Linked DNA regions of Homo sapiens: region 1 is linked to region 2. The links are contacts of gene promoters, found by promoter capture Hi-C in blood cells and fetal thymus (Javierre and others, 2016). All regions are on one chromosome and are shown on one strand. Each heading gives the region's core, a stretch centred on a gene start or on the middle of the fragment in contact. The rest is flanking DNA. Distances are from core to core; before and after follow the strand shown.

Region 1 (6,274 bases), core at 3,435-5,934, 160 kb after region 2:
AATGCACATGCAATATATATAAATTATGTTTGCTGTTTTAAAATTAGAAATGCCGAGAAGCTATGTGTTTGACATTTTATTATAAATTTTGTACACACATAGATGTATGGAAAATATACTATGTTCTAGAGTCAACAATTGTTATCATTTTGCCATATTTACCTCATCTCTTTTTTTTTTTTTTTGAGATGAAATCTCATTCTGTTGCCCAGGCTGGGGTGCAGTGACGCAATCTCAGCTCACTGTAACCTCTGCCTCCCAGGTTCAAGCAATTCTCCTGCCTCAGTCCCCTGAGTAGCTGGGACTACAGATATCTGCCTGGCTAATTTTTGTATTTTTAGTAGAGATAGGGTTTCTCCATGTTGGCTAGGCTGGTCTCGAACTGCTGACCTCAAGTGATCCACCTGCCTCGGCCTCCCAAAGTGCTGGGATTATAGATGTGAGCCACCACGCCTGGGCTACCTCATCTCTTTTTTATGAAGTTTTTATTTTTATTTTTTAATTTTTTTTTTAATTTTTTTTTTTTTTTGAGACAGCGTCTTGTTCTGTCACCCAGGCTGGAGTGCAGTGGCATGATCTCGGCTCACTGCAACCTCCACCTCTTGGGTTCAAGTGATTCTTCTGCCTTAGCCTCTCGAGTAGCTGGGACTACAGGCGCTTGTCACCATGCTAGCTAATTTTTGGTATTTTTAGTAGGGACGGGGTTTCACCGTGTTAGCCAGGATGGTCTCAATCTCCTGACCTCATGATCGGCCCGCCTTGGCCTACCAAAGTGCTGGGATTACAGACATGAGCCACTGCACCCGGCCAGTTTTTTATTTTTTATTTTTTTGAGACAAGGCCTTGCTCTGTCACCCAGGCTGGAGTGCAGTGGCAAGATCATGGCTCACTGCAGCCTACCTCCTGGACTCAAGCAATCCTCCTCCCTCAGCCTCCTGAGTAGCTGGGACTATAGGCACATGCCACCATGCCCAGCTAGTTTTTTTTTTTTTTTTTAGAGATGGGGTCTCCCTGTGTTGCCCAGCCTGGCCTCAAACTCCTGGGCTCAAGCAATCCTTCTGCCTTGACCTCCCAAAGTGCTGGGATTACAGGCAGGAGCCACCCTGCCCAGCCTGAAGTATTTTAAAGTAAATTCCAACTAATATAACATTTTATTCTCATGTACTTCCAGATGTGTCTCTAAAAATAGACATTTTTATATATAACCTAATACCATCATTACATATTTAACAATAATTCTTTAATCTTCTCATTCTCAGGTATATTTAAATTTTCCCATTAATCCAAAAAAGAATCAAAATTGAAACAATTTCACACATTGCATTTGGTTAAGCCTCTTAAATCTCTTTTACTCTCTAGTCCAGTGCTGTCTAATAGAACTTCTACAGTGATGTGAAGGAAATATCTAATATGCTGCTATCCACTATGATAGCCAGTGGCTTTTGAGCACTTGAAATATGGCAAGTGCTGCTGAGGAGCAGAATTTTCAATTTGAATTAATTTAAGTTGCTTTAATTTAATAGCCACATTTCCTTACTCTCTTACTGGAATCAGCCATTTCCCCATGGTGCTCTGAATCCTCTTAGTGAGAAATGGTACATAGACACCAAAATCAGGGTGCTAAGTCTGTCCATTGTTATGTGGTTTGTCATTGAGATACAAATAATTTTTTTTGTTTTGTTTTGAGACAGAGTCTCACTCTGTCACCCAGGCTGCAGTGCAGTGGTACAATCTTGGCTTACTGCAACCTCCACCTCCTTGGTCCAAGCTATTCTCCTGCCTCAGTTTCCCAAGTAGTTGGGATTACAGGCACCCACCACCACACTCAGCTAATTTTCGTATTTTTAGTAGAGACATGGTTTCACCATGTTGGCCAGGCCAGGCTCAAACTCCCAACCTCAGGTGATCTGCCTGTCTCAGCCTCCCAAAGTGCTAGGATTACAGGCGTGAGCTGCCACACCTAGCCAAGACTCAGTGAATTTTAATAATCCAGAGCTCTCCATGTATCCCCTAATCTATAATCTACAGTGCTTAAATAGAGGCTTTTATAAGCCATTATGTACACTCATGTTATGTTTGTTTTTTTAATTACTTAGTCTTTTTCCAAAAGGAATTTGCAACAGCTACATAATCTTATAATTGTTATGTTTCTTTTATATTTTCACAGTTGTTTTAATTTTAAATTGTAAAAGCAAACAGGATATTCTTATAATAAAAATGTTCTGAGATGTTTTTCATATTTGTGTCTTTCATGTGGCTCAGAATATATGAGATTTTCATGTCATATCATTGTCAGTATTCAGCCTTTTCTCCACATTGTGTGGGGTAGAGGATAGAGTCTAGAAGCTTATAAAATGGTCACAAATGAGGAAGTAGAGAAAACATTCAGCCTAGAAAGCGTGCATTTGTGGTATGAAAGGCACTGTGGAATGCTGCTGGATTCTGCCCTTCAGTAGTTACCCGAGAGAGACCGAGGCAGACGCATAGCTCCCTCCTCAGCAAGGAGAAAAGAGTTGCCTGCTTTCCTCAGCGTGCTTTCCATTTCCTTTGTTTTGAAAAAAGCACATTATGCTAATCAACTTTCCTTAAGGTAGACATTTTTATTGGTAGATCAAAAACCGTGCTTTAAGTTATAAGCCTTCTGAACTTCTGTATTTTTCTCTTAAATTATAATTTCCTTTTATTCCTATTTAAAACCCAAGTGTAAAAGATGTGTTCATAGGCTTTCTACTCACTCACTTGCCTCTTTTTCGTAACCACAGAATGACAGCCTTAAATTTTAATTTCCTGACTTGGCTTGCCCATGGCCTGACTTTTTTAAAACAAGGAGTTTAAGTTAAAGAAATTTCTCCAGCCATTATTATTTAAACACATTTACACAGTATCAAAGAATTTAAAAATGTTGCTAGCAGTTGATACTCCCCTCAGCTTTCGGTTCAGCGTGTTTTAGATTGCTCCTATTTTGTTATTTGTCTATGAACTTTTATATTTTTCAAAAAAATAAGGCAAGCCCTTTTTGCCTGATAGGCACTGCTGAGCAGTATAATAAACAAGCATGGGGGCAACAGAACCTGGGTTCCAGGCTAGACTCCACTGTTTTCAAACGGCATGACTTTAATTCATCAAGTGAACACAATTAAGCAAAGTATAAGTTTGGGACCATGGAATATCCTTCACTCATCACACAGGTTACTGTGAAGATCAAATGGATATAATATTGCTTTCAAGATGGCGGCACACTTGCCACTATACACAGGTGATATTATTAGGCAGAGTCGCCACATAGTCCCTGTCCTTGAAATGCAGGCAAGGAGCCCTCACCAAAGGCCAGGGTGGTTTTTTGTTTTTCGGGTTTTTGTTTGTTTTTTTCATTGTGGTATATTATTTCCTCTGGCATGCTATTCCCTGTCCCACTCTTACAGAACTGTGTCAGTGGGTCACCAAAAGAGAGAGCTGATTCAACTGATTCCTTGAAATAAAGGTAGTCAGACCTCGCGGTATGATGGAGATGAAGCAACTGATTTACTGGTTTTCTCTATTTTTCTGCTGTTCGTGTTGTCATTTAAACAGACATGGAAACCGTCTGCACACGACAGAGATCTTTCCGAGCCTTTTTCATCTAGTGTGCTGTGCTGACCCGCTCCCCTGGATGCCTGCACACTCATTTGGTTCTCCCTTTTGGTCACTTTTTTCCACTTACCCTGGCAGAAATTCACGTGGCTGTCAGTAGTAATTCAGTGACCTGCTTTCAAAAAATGTTATAAATTAAGCAGCTTTTCTGTGTATAGCTTTTGGGTTGAACTGAGAAGGGCTAAGTGAAGGGAGAAGCTATGTTGAGCTCAGAGTCAGAATGCCCTGCCCCAGACATTTTGAGATGTGAATTTTTCATTTGTTTTGTTTGGTGACACTTAGAGAGAATAAACATTCTGAGATAAAAATCTTCCTTGGGCAGGCCAGCAAAGATAGAATTGCTTTAGAGCAATTTGGCACTTGGTCTTAATCTTAATAGTTTGGAACTCATATGTGACTAAGGAAAAGGATATTGCAAAAAGTTGTGCCACCCTAGGCTATATGATATAAACTTAGAAAGTCTATCAACGTGAAAGGTGAAGAGACCTCTAGAGACATCGGGGACAAACTCCAAATTTGGGAAAGGTCCATCCACATTTGCAATTGTTAGTTAGGCTTGGGAAGTGGAGTCATTGGTGGATGAGGCAACTTCCAATCACCATCTCGATTTTTATTTCCCTAACTTTTAAGATTATTTTCTATAGAAAATCAGTAGTGCTGAAGTTGGAGTCATTTAATTGATTTGTGCCAACCTAGGGAAGCATTTACTCTCGAGAAAAGTTTGGTAACCATTAATCTTACCTTAGCAACATTTCAGTTTAAGCTTATCTCTGACTTTCCAAAGACAACTAAAGATTTCTACAGTCTCTCTTATAACTGATCCATTTTTTCAAAAGATGTCCCTTTGGGAAGGAATTCTCATTTTTAGAATTTTAGTCCAGAGGAAGTATTTTTTTTTCAGATAGGTGAAATAGAATAAGCAGAAAATTCTTATTTTTTACTGTTTTATATACCATTGATGCCTGCTTATTTTAAAACAAAACACAATAAAAACATGATACCATCTGATGAGTTGCTTTGGTTTTACTTTTTTTTTTTTTTTTTTTTTTTTTTTTTTTTTAGTTTATACAAGTTTCTTATTAGGTCAGCAAATTGTAAAACACATAATTTGCCAAGGCTTTTGAAGCCAGCAGATACTGGGTGAAGTTGCTGTATGAATATAATAATAAGAACCGTTTTTGTTCAGCTTGATGAAAAAACTATTCATGTTCTAAATGAAAATGTGAAGATCATCTAATTCTGACAGAAAACCACCTGTGGACATGGTCTTGTTTCTTTTTATTTCTTCTGTTTTCTACAAAAGATGGCAATATTTATTTAAAGTGCTTTAACAGGATATCCCAGTTAAAGCTTTGACAGACTGTTTATAGTTCACTTCTGCCCAGGGGCAATTAAAGGCACATTACAGGATAAGCGAGATGACTCCCCGGCCACAGGAGGAGGATGTGTGGGTAGGATTATTAATGTTGAAATGAATTATGATAGAGTGACATGTCTGCAAGAGCACCATGGGTTAGTAACTTAACAAGAATTCATATGCAGAAACCCATAATTCTCAGCAGTTCTTTAGGGTAAATGAAACTAAAGTTTAGGGAGAGAGAACAAGGAGAATTTGCAAAGATATGTATGACAGTATTTAAAAATGTTCTTCCAGCACAAAGACATTAATCTTCCTTTGTCAAAATAATTCTTTCTGCATGAAAAGTTGGCATGGGGCTCCCAGGCTTCAGGTAAGATGGGAGAAAGGGAGCGTTTCTTTTTTTTTGTACCAAAGTACTCAATCTTCTGATCTTCCTTGACTTTCACGACATAGGCATATGTCTACTCTGACCAGTTTGTTTCATTTATTGTGGTAAGATGTGCTTGTCTTGTGCTTTCCTGGTGCAGAAAAGGAGCTGCCTCGCTCATGCTTGGTGGCCTTTTTGTTCCTACACACAGTGGTTCTCGTACATGGTGGCTACCACATCCTGGTGTTTGTCTATACTGGGAGAATCAGGCGTTCCAAGTCATCTTGGCTGCCCTAGCTCTGAGCTTCAGGGGATATATGACTCAGAAATGCTATGCTTTCTGGAATTTGGATATTTCATTTTTATTTGTTTCTTGGTAAATTCTCTTTTGACTTAGGAGAAGCTAACTATTTGGAAAGGTCTCTCAGAACTCTAATTACAAATATATGGTACCTTCTTTATATTGATCTCATTTTTAAATACCTAGTCCTGGAGGAAGAGCTAAATATGAATACAGTGATGAGCTGTGTAGGGGATCTCACAGGAACACAGTCAGATTTCAAGTTGAAAATAGATTCAGTTGATAATACTTAGTACTAGATTCTCCTGAATCGACTTTGGGAATTCTGAGTCAACCTAAGGACTATATTACAAAGGATCAGACCTTGACTTTTAGGCCAGGTGTAGTGGCTCATGCCTGTAATCCCAGCACTTTAGGAAGCCAAGGCAAGTGGATCACTTCAGTCCAGGAGGTTGAGACTAGCCTGTGCAACACAGCGAGACCCTGTCTCTACCAAAAATACAAAAATTAGCCAGGTGTAGTGTAGCACCTGCCTGTAGTCTGAGCTACTGAGGAGGCTGAGGTTGGAGAATCAACTTTAACCCCGGATATGGAGGCTGCAGTGAGCTGTGATCAT
Region 2 (5,799 bases), core at 824-3,323:
AAAGAACATTGTGCCAGCTACTTAAAGTATGGATTTTGCCTTCCTGAGACTTTTAAATCAGTGACTGAGGCAGTCATGTAAAGTATTACATAAATTACAGAGAAAAACAAAGTGGGAGTTAAGTAGCGGAACCAGTAGGTTTTAGAACACAAACTCTCTCTAATGAGGTTATATTTCTTAACAGAATTTTTAAATTATTATTCTGAGAATTCAAGAGAAAGCCTAACTGGGAAGAAGAGAAATAAACTGGACCTTAATGAGTACAACTTTTATAAACAAGAAAAGGGGATGAACCTCCTTAATGTTACAGGAACAGCTTGGTTATGATGTCACCAATTGTTTCAAAGAAGCATGACAACATGACAACCTAACCTCAAGAAGCCAAGGTGCTCCCTGAGGCCAACCACCTCTCCTCCATGAAGCATTCCTTAACGTAGAAATCCTGCTTAAATTCCCCCCAATCCATTCTGAATTAAGTGTTCTCATCTGTGTATCCCTCCCATAGCGTTTTCTCAGTACCTTTTGTAGCATTTTTCATACTCTAATAATCTGTAACTCGTATAATCTTCTCCTTTTAGACCACCCTCAAATATCTTACTTTCAGTCCTCAAAGCTTAGAACAGTACTCTAAGCACTAACTTAATGGTGGTTGAGGAAATGATAAACAACTATTAAAGAAATGAATGAATAATAAATAGGCCTATTCATGTACTTTATATTTGCAAAAATCTCTCTCAATCTAAAGTCATTTCTTAGGTGACAATGGTCCACATGCAATACCATCCACTGCAATATTTATTTAAAAGGGCCTCCATTCTAAAGTAACCACCAGAAAATTCACATGTTCTAGACGGACTGAGGTCACAGGTTCCAAATGGAGAACAGGGTGTTAGCTGCCCTCACTCTAGTTAAAGCATACTGATGTTCTATAATAATCTACTGGGGTGCCAATGACAATCACCAACATATTAAGCACTACATGTTCTGCACTTCGTAAAGCATAGTTCTTTATTCTTCTCCTGCATTAGTTCATTTTTGTTTATATTTTTAGTTTATGTGATGCTTGGTGATGCCTATAGTTATCTACTGCATGAAGAGGGATGTGCTCCTCCTAAAAATAATTCTAACTCCTGTTAACTCCTACAGAACATTCATACAGACATTTTTATTTCATTTTTTAATATCAAAAAGTCCTTTCCTATACACTCTTTCCTCTAGTACTGCCGTTTATTTACATTTCAAAATACATTTATATCAAGCATTACCAGCCAAGAACTAAGTATAAACTTCAAGATCCATCTGATCGACTCATTCTTTGGGCCTTTTTAACATGTGTCTTTTCTACCGTCTCCTAAGTTTCCACTTTGAAATTCGTTGAAAAATAAATTAGCGCAAACTGATTCTGCACTAGGTATGTATGGACATACACAAAAGGTTTACCATGTAAATCTAACACAGGTACACGTCCGTTGAATGTATTAAGTCAATCTGTGTTTTACAAATAAGCAACGTTTCATGGACATTTCTCAAAGGGGATCTGGGAGAGAGGAGCTAGAAGCAGGCACGTTAGTGCCCAACATGGGAGGAAACAATGGAAGAGGTGATAATGCTTACGTGCCTAAATATCACCGGATCTCAACCTCACCAATATCCTACCCATATGACGCTATGCAGCACCTCCCCCTCCCCAAATAAAATCAACCCCAGAGGGCAGAAATCATGACTTAAAAACGACGGCATTTGAAAGCACTAGAAGGCCTGTTATATTCCCCAACTGGGGCTCTCCCAATCCCGACAGGGCAACACTGACGAGAAACTCACAGATTGAAGTGGATGCCAACGGGCTAGGATCCCAGCTGTAGCCGGGAAAAGAACGTCCCGGCATGACCCTGCCACCTACCTTCATCGTAGTTATAGCCTCGAACATTCCGATGCCGGGCCATGACGGCGGAGAGGGCGTTTGCCACAGCCCCTTAACTCCTTCCAAAACACTCCGCTTAGATACTGATAAGGCGCCAACTGCAGCCTGGAGAACCCCTATGCGCCATCTTGGCTTCCCGCAGGCCTCTGCGCCGAGCGCCTGCGCAAGCGCGACGTCTTAGCTGTGCACCGCGCGACGGCAATGCCTCAGGGTCACTGTCCGCCTCCCTGAGGGCGCATGCGCACTGCTGTGCATGGCGGGACGAGGGGAGGGAGCGTTTGGGAGTGGCCCCACCCAAAGGTTGGGCGACGGAGGGGGATGGGGAAATCCGCCGCCTAGAATTGACTGGTTTGGACTAAATGTTGCAAGCGGGGAACCTTGAGCTACCTACGCCAGCGTTCTGGATTATTTTCCAAATTTGGTTCCTGATAATCTGAGAAAGCTATGCGCTCAGTAAGAGCAGGGACCTTGTTTTATCAAACTTTGATCTTTCATTAAGCACACAGTGGGCATTCAACAAACTTGTGTAAACTTGGAATCAGATTTAGCCCAGGCCGGTGCGGTGGCTCCTTCCTGTAATCCCAGCACTTTGGGAAGCCTAGGAGGGCGGATCGCTTGAACTCAGGTGTTCGAGACCAGCCTGAGCAACATAGCGAGGCTCCGTCTCTACAAAAAATACAAACACTAGCCGGCCCTGTGGTGCAGACCTGTAGTCCCAGCTACTGAAGAGGCTGAGGTGGGAGGATCCCCTGAGCCCAGGCGGTCGAGGCTGCAGTGAGCTGAGATCGGGCCTCTCCATTCCAGCCCGGGCGACAAAGTGAGTGAGACCTTATCTCAAAAAAAAAAAGAGTCCAAGCTTTAGAGAAGGAAATAAGGCTATTTTTAAACGGGTATATATTATTAAATTGAGACCCTGGCTATATTAGGTCACCCTGCATTCATATAATTTACGACTTCATGTATTCACTCCGTTCGGCATTACTATCCCTAGTAAACAGCGATTTGCCCTTAGCTATGTAAACGATTTTAGCTATATAGACGATATTTATCAGCATCATAAAGAAGGATTCACTGAACATTCATTGAAGACATAATTGTGTGTAACATTGCGAGTATTAAATATAGCTTTTTAGACATAGCACTGGCCTTAGGTGGTAATGCTGAATGTTGTTGATGCATGAATCTATAACCTGCTATTAAATGTCCTCATTTCTCAGAACATAAAGTTAATAATGCTATATAAGAAACCAACCTCATTATACTGAACACCACTTCAGTTTTAGCTTGTGTTTTTGAAATGATGATACTTCACATCAAAGGCAAATGTTGAGTTCTAGAGATAATTAAAAGCTTCCTCAGCTTTTTGCTATGCACAATAGAAAGAAATAAGAGTAATCCAAATTTAGTTTATATTTGTAAGTGGCTTGGAACGTAATTTATTCATGCATTTGAATGTGTTTGACTACAAAAATAGTTGTTTAATGTGGCTCCAAAATAAAAGTTTACAGAAAAATAGAGATAGTTGCTAATGTTACATGGCTTAAGTGTTTTTATTATTTTACACCCTTAGGTAATTTTTATTTTGCAGCCTGTTTCTTTGTAAAAAGGAGATAGAGACACTAACTCGCGAGCTGTGAATAATGTATCCGTATAAGAGGATTTATCACAGATCATAGTAGGTGCTTAAAAATATTGTGTTATTGGCCGGGCGCGGTGGCTGACTCCTGTGATCCCAACACTTTGGGAGGCTGAAGCAGGCGGATCATGAGGTCAAGAGATCAAGACCATTCTGGCCAACATGGTGAAACTCCCTGTCTACTAAAAATACAAAAATTAGCTAGGCATGGTGGCGCGTGCCTATAGTCCTAGCTACTCGGGAGGCTGAGGCAGGAGAATCGCTTGAACCCGGGAGGCAGAGGTTGCAGTGAGCTAAGATTGTGCCACTGCACTCCAGCCTGGAGACAGAGTGAGACTCTGCACCCCCCCAAAAAAATTGTGTTATTAAAATACAAATGGCAGCTTCCACTCCACTGTAATTGTCAATTACAAGCTTAACTACAACTCACTGAGGTATGAAGTGAATGAGTTATAGACCACATAAGCAAAGTACTACAGGAACAATGAATAAGAAAACGTTACTTCTGTCAGATAATATATAATTTGCCCTTAGGTCGTCAATAACGCACTCCTTTAAAACTCTAAATATTGCACAGCATCTACTGCATCTCAAACAGTAGAGCCTCAATGGCAAAGCCTTCACTGACTTCTTCAGAAAAAGTTAGGATTGTTCCACTCCCCTCAGGACTCTGTAAGGTGTGGGCAGGGCACCGTGGCTCACGCCTGTAATCCCAGCACTTTGGGACGCTGAGGCGGGTGGATCACCTGAGGTCAAGAGTTCCAGACCAGCCTGGCCACCATGGTGAAACCCCCATCTTCCACTAAAAATAAAAAAAAATTAGCTGTGCGTGGTGGTGGGTGACTGTAATCCCAGCTACTCGGGAGGCTGAGGCAGGAGAATCGCTTGAACCCAGGAGGCAGGAGTTGCAGTGAGCTGAGATCGTGCCACTGCACTCCAGCCTGGACAACAAGGGCAAAACTCCGACTCAAAAAATAAATGAATAAAACTCTGGTATTGTGTTTTGATGGAAAGTACTATGACTTCGGAGTACCACGAACCTGGATTTCAGTCCCAGTTTTGTTGCTGTTAACCACTTCAGATTTAATGTCTTCATCTGTAAAATCGAATATATGAAAATGTATGTCTTCTGTTTTGTGAAAAGTAAATGATATATGTAAAAACAGTAGGTGTTGCAGAATGGGTACTCAGTAAATGCCACTTCTCTACCCCTACTAATTTCAAAGCTTTATCTTTGTTTCTCCGGCACCCTAATGTCTGGCACTTTAAATGTTTGCTGAATGAATTAATGAGTAAAAGAAGAGAAATAAAATGACATTTCTCTTGCTATGGAATTGTTAATGTCATAAAAAACAATACAAATCATTTTATATTGATTTGTGAAAAAAATTATGAATGAAAGGATAACTACATTACTGAAAAAATGTTAACAACTTTATTGAGATATCATTGACAATAAACTGCACATAATGTGTAATTTTGATACATTTTGACGTATGTATACACCAGTGAAGCCATCAACCCCATCAAGATAATGAACATATCCAGACTTTCAAAATTTTCCTGAAGTACCTTTATATCCAGAATAAAAATTCCAGAATATCCCGGAATCCTTCCTGCCCGTCAAGGCCTCCTCACCATGGCCCCTCAAAATAACTGATCGTCTTTCTGTCACTATGAGTTGTTTGCATTTTTTAAAATTTTATACAGGTGAAATCATATAGTATGTGTTCTTTTTTATCTGTCTTAATTCACTCAGCATAATTATTTTGAGATTCACCTGTGTAGTTGCTTGAATCAACAGTTCATTCCTTTTTATTAGAGGAGGATTCCGCTGTGTGGATATACCACAATTTGTTTTTCCATTCACCCATTGAGAGATATTTGGTTTGTTTTCCATTTTGACGACTGTAAATAAGGCTTCTGTGAATATCTGTGTACGAATCTTCGTATAAACATAAACTAATTTTTCCTGGGTAAATACCTAGGAGTAGAATGATATGATAGGTTATCTTCAGCTTTTTAAAGAAACTGTCAAACTGTTTTCCAAAAACAGTTGTAAAGTTTTATGTTTCCACCAGCAATGTAGTTCCATTTTCTCTATTTTCTCAACATCATTGCCAACACTTCATGAGGTCTAAAGATGTTAAGCTTACGGCCGGGCGCGGTGGCTCATGCATGTAAATCCCAGCACTTTGGGAGGCCAAGATGGGCGGAGCACAAGGTCAGGAGTTTGACACCA

What was found. The method cuts DNA at HindIII sites, captures the fragments that hold promoters and counts their contacts. A CHiCAGO score of 5 or more calls a contact.
Region 1: a fragment that was not itself captured here is called in contact with the fragment with the promoter of HBS1L in region 2 in 2 of 17 cell types (naive CD4 T cells and non-activated CD4 T cells); the score reaches 6.1 in naive CD4 T cells.

The regions. Positions count from the first base shown.
Region 1 is chr6:135,207,568-135,213,841 of GRCh38, forward strand. All of the region lies in intron 15 of MYB (MYB proto-oncogene, transcription factor), which reads left to right. The region is part of intron 2 of LOC105378011 (a long non-coding RNA gene); the gene reads right to left. Among named protein-coding and RNA genes, the nearest start is that of MIR548A2, 28 kb to the right of the region's middle. The HindIII fragment of the contact is 587 bases long and covers 4,392-4,978 here.
Region 2 is chr6:135,052,749-135,058,547 of GRCh38, forward strand. It overlaps HBS1L (HBS1 like translational GTPase), which reads right to left and starts at 2,074. Exons shown (of 18, transcript NM_006620.4): 1 at 1,901-2,074. The coding sequence starts at 1,943. LOC124901405 (a long non-coding RNA gene) reads left to right here and starts at 2,145. Exons shown (of 2, transcript XR_007059775.1): 1 at 2,145-2,738. It overlaps LOC124901406 (a long non-coding RNA gene), which reads right to left. Exons shown (of 2, transcript XR_007059776.1): 2 at 4,970-5,541. RefSeq lists an enhancer at 2,233-2,282. The HindIII fragment of the contact is 2,164 bases long and covers 612-2,775 here.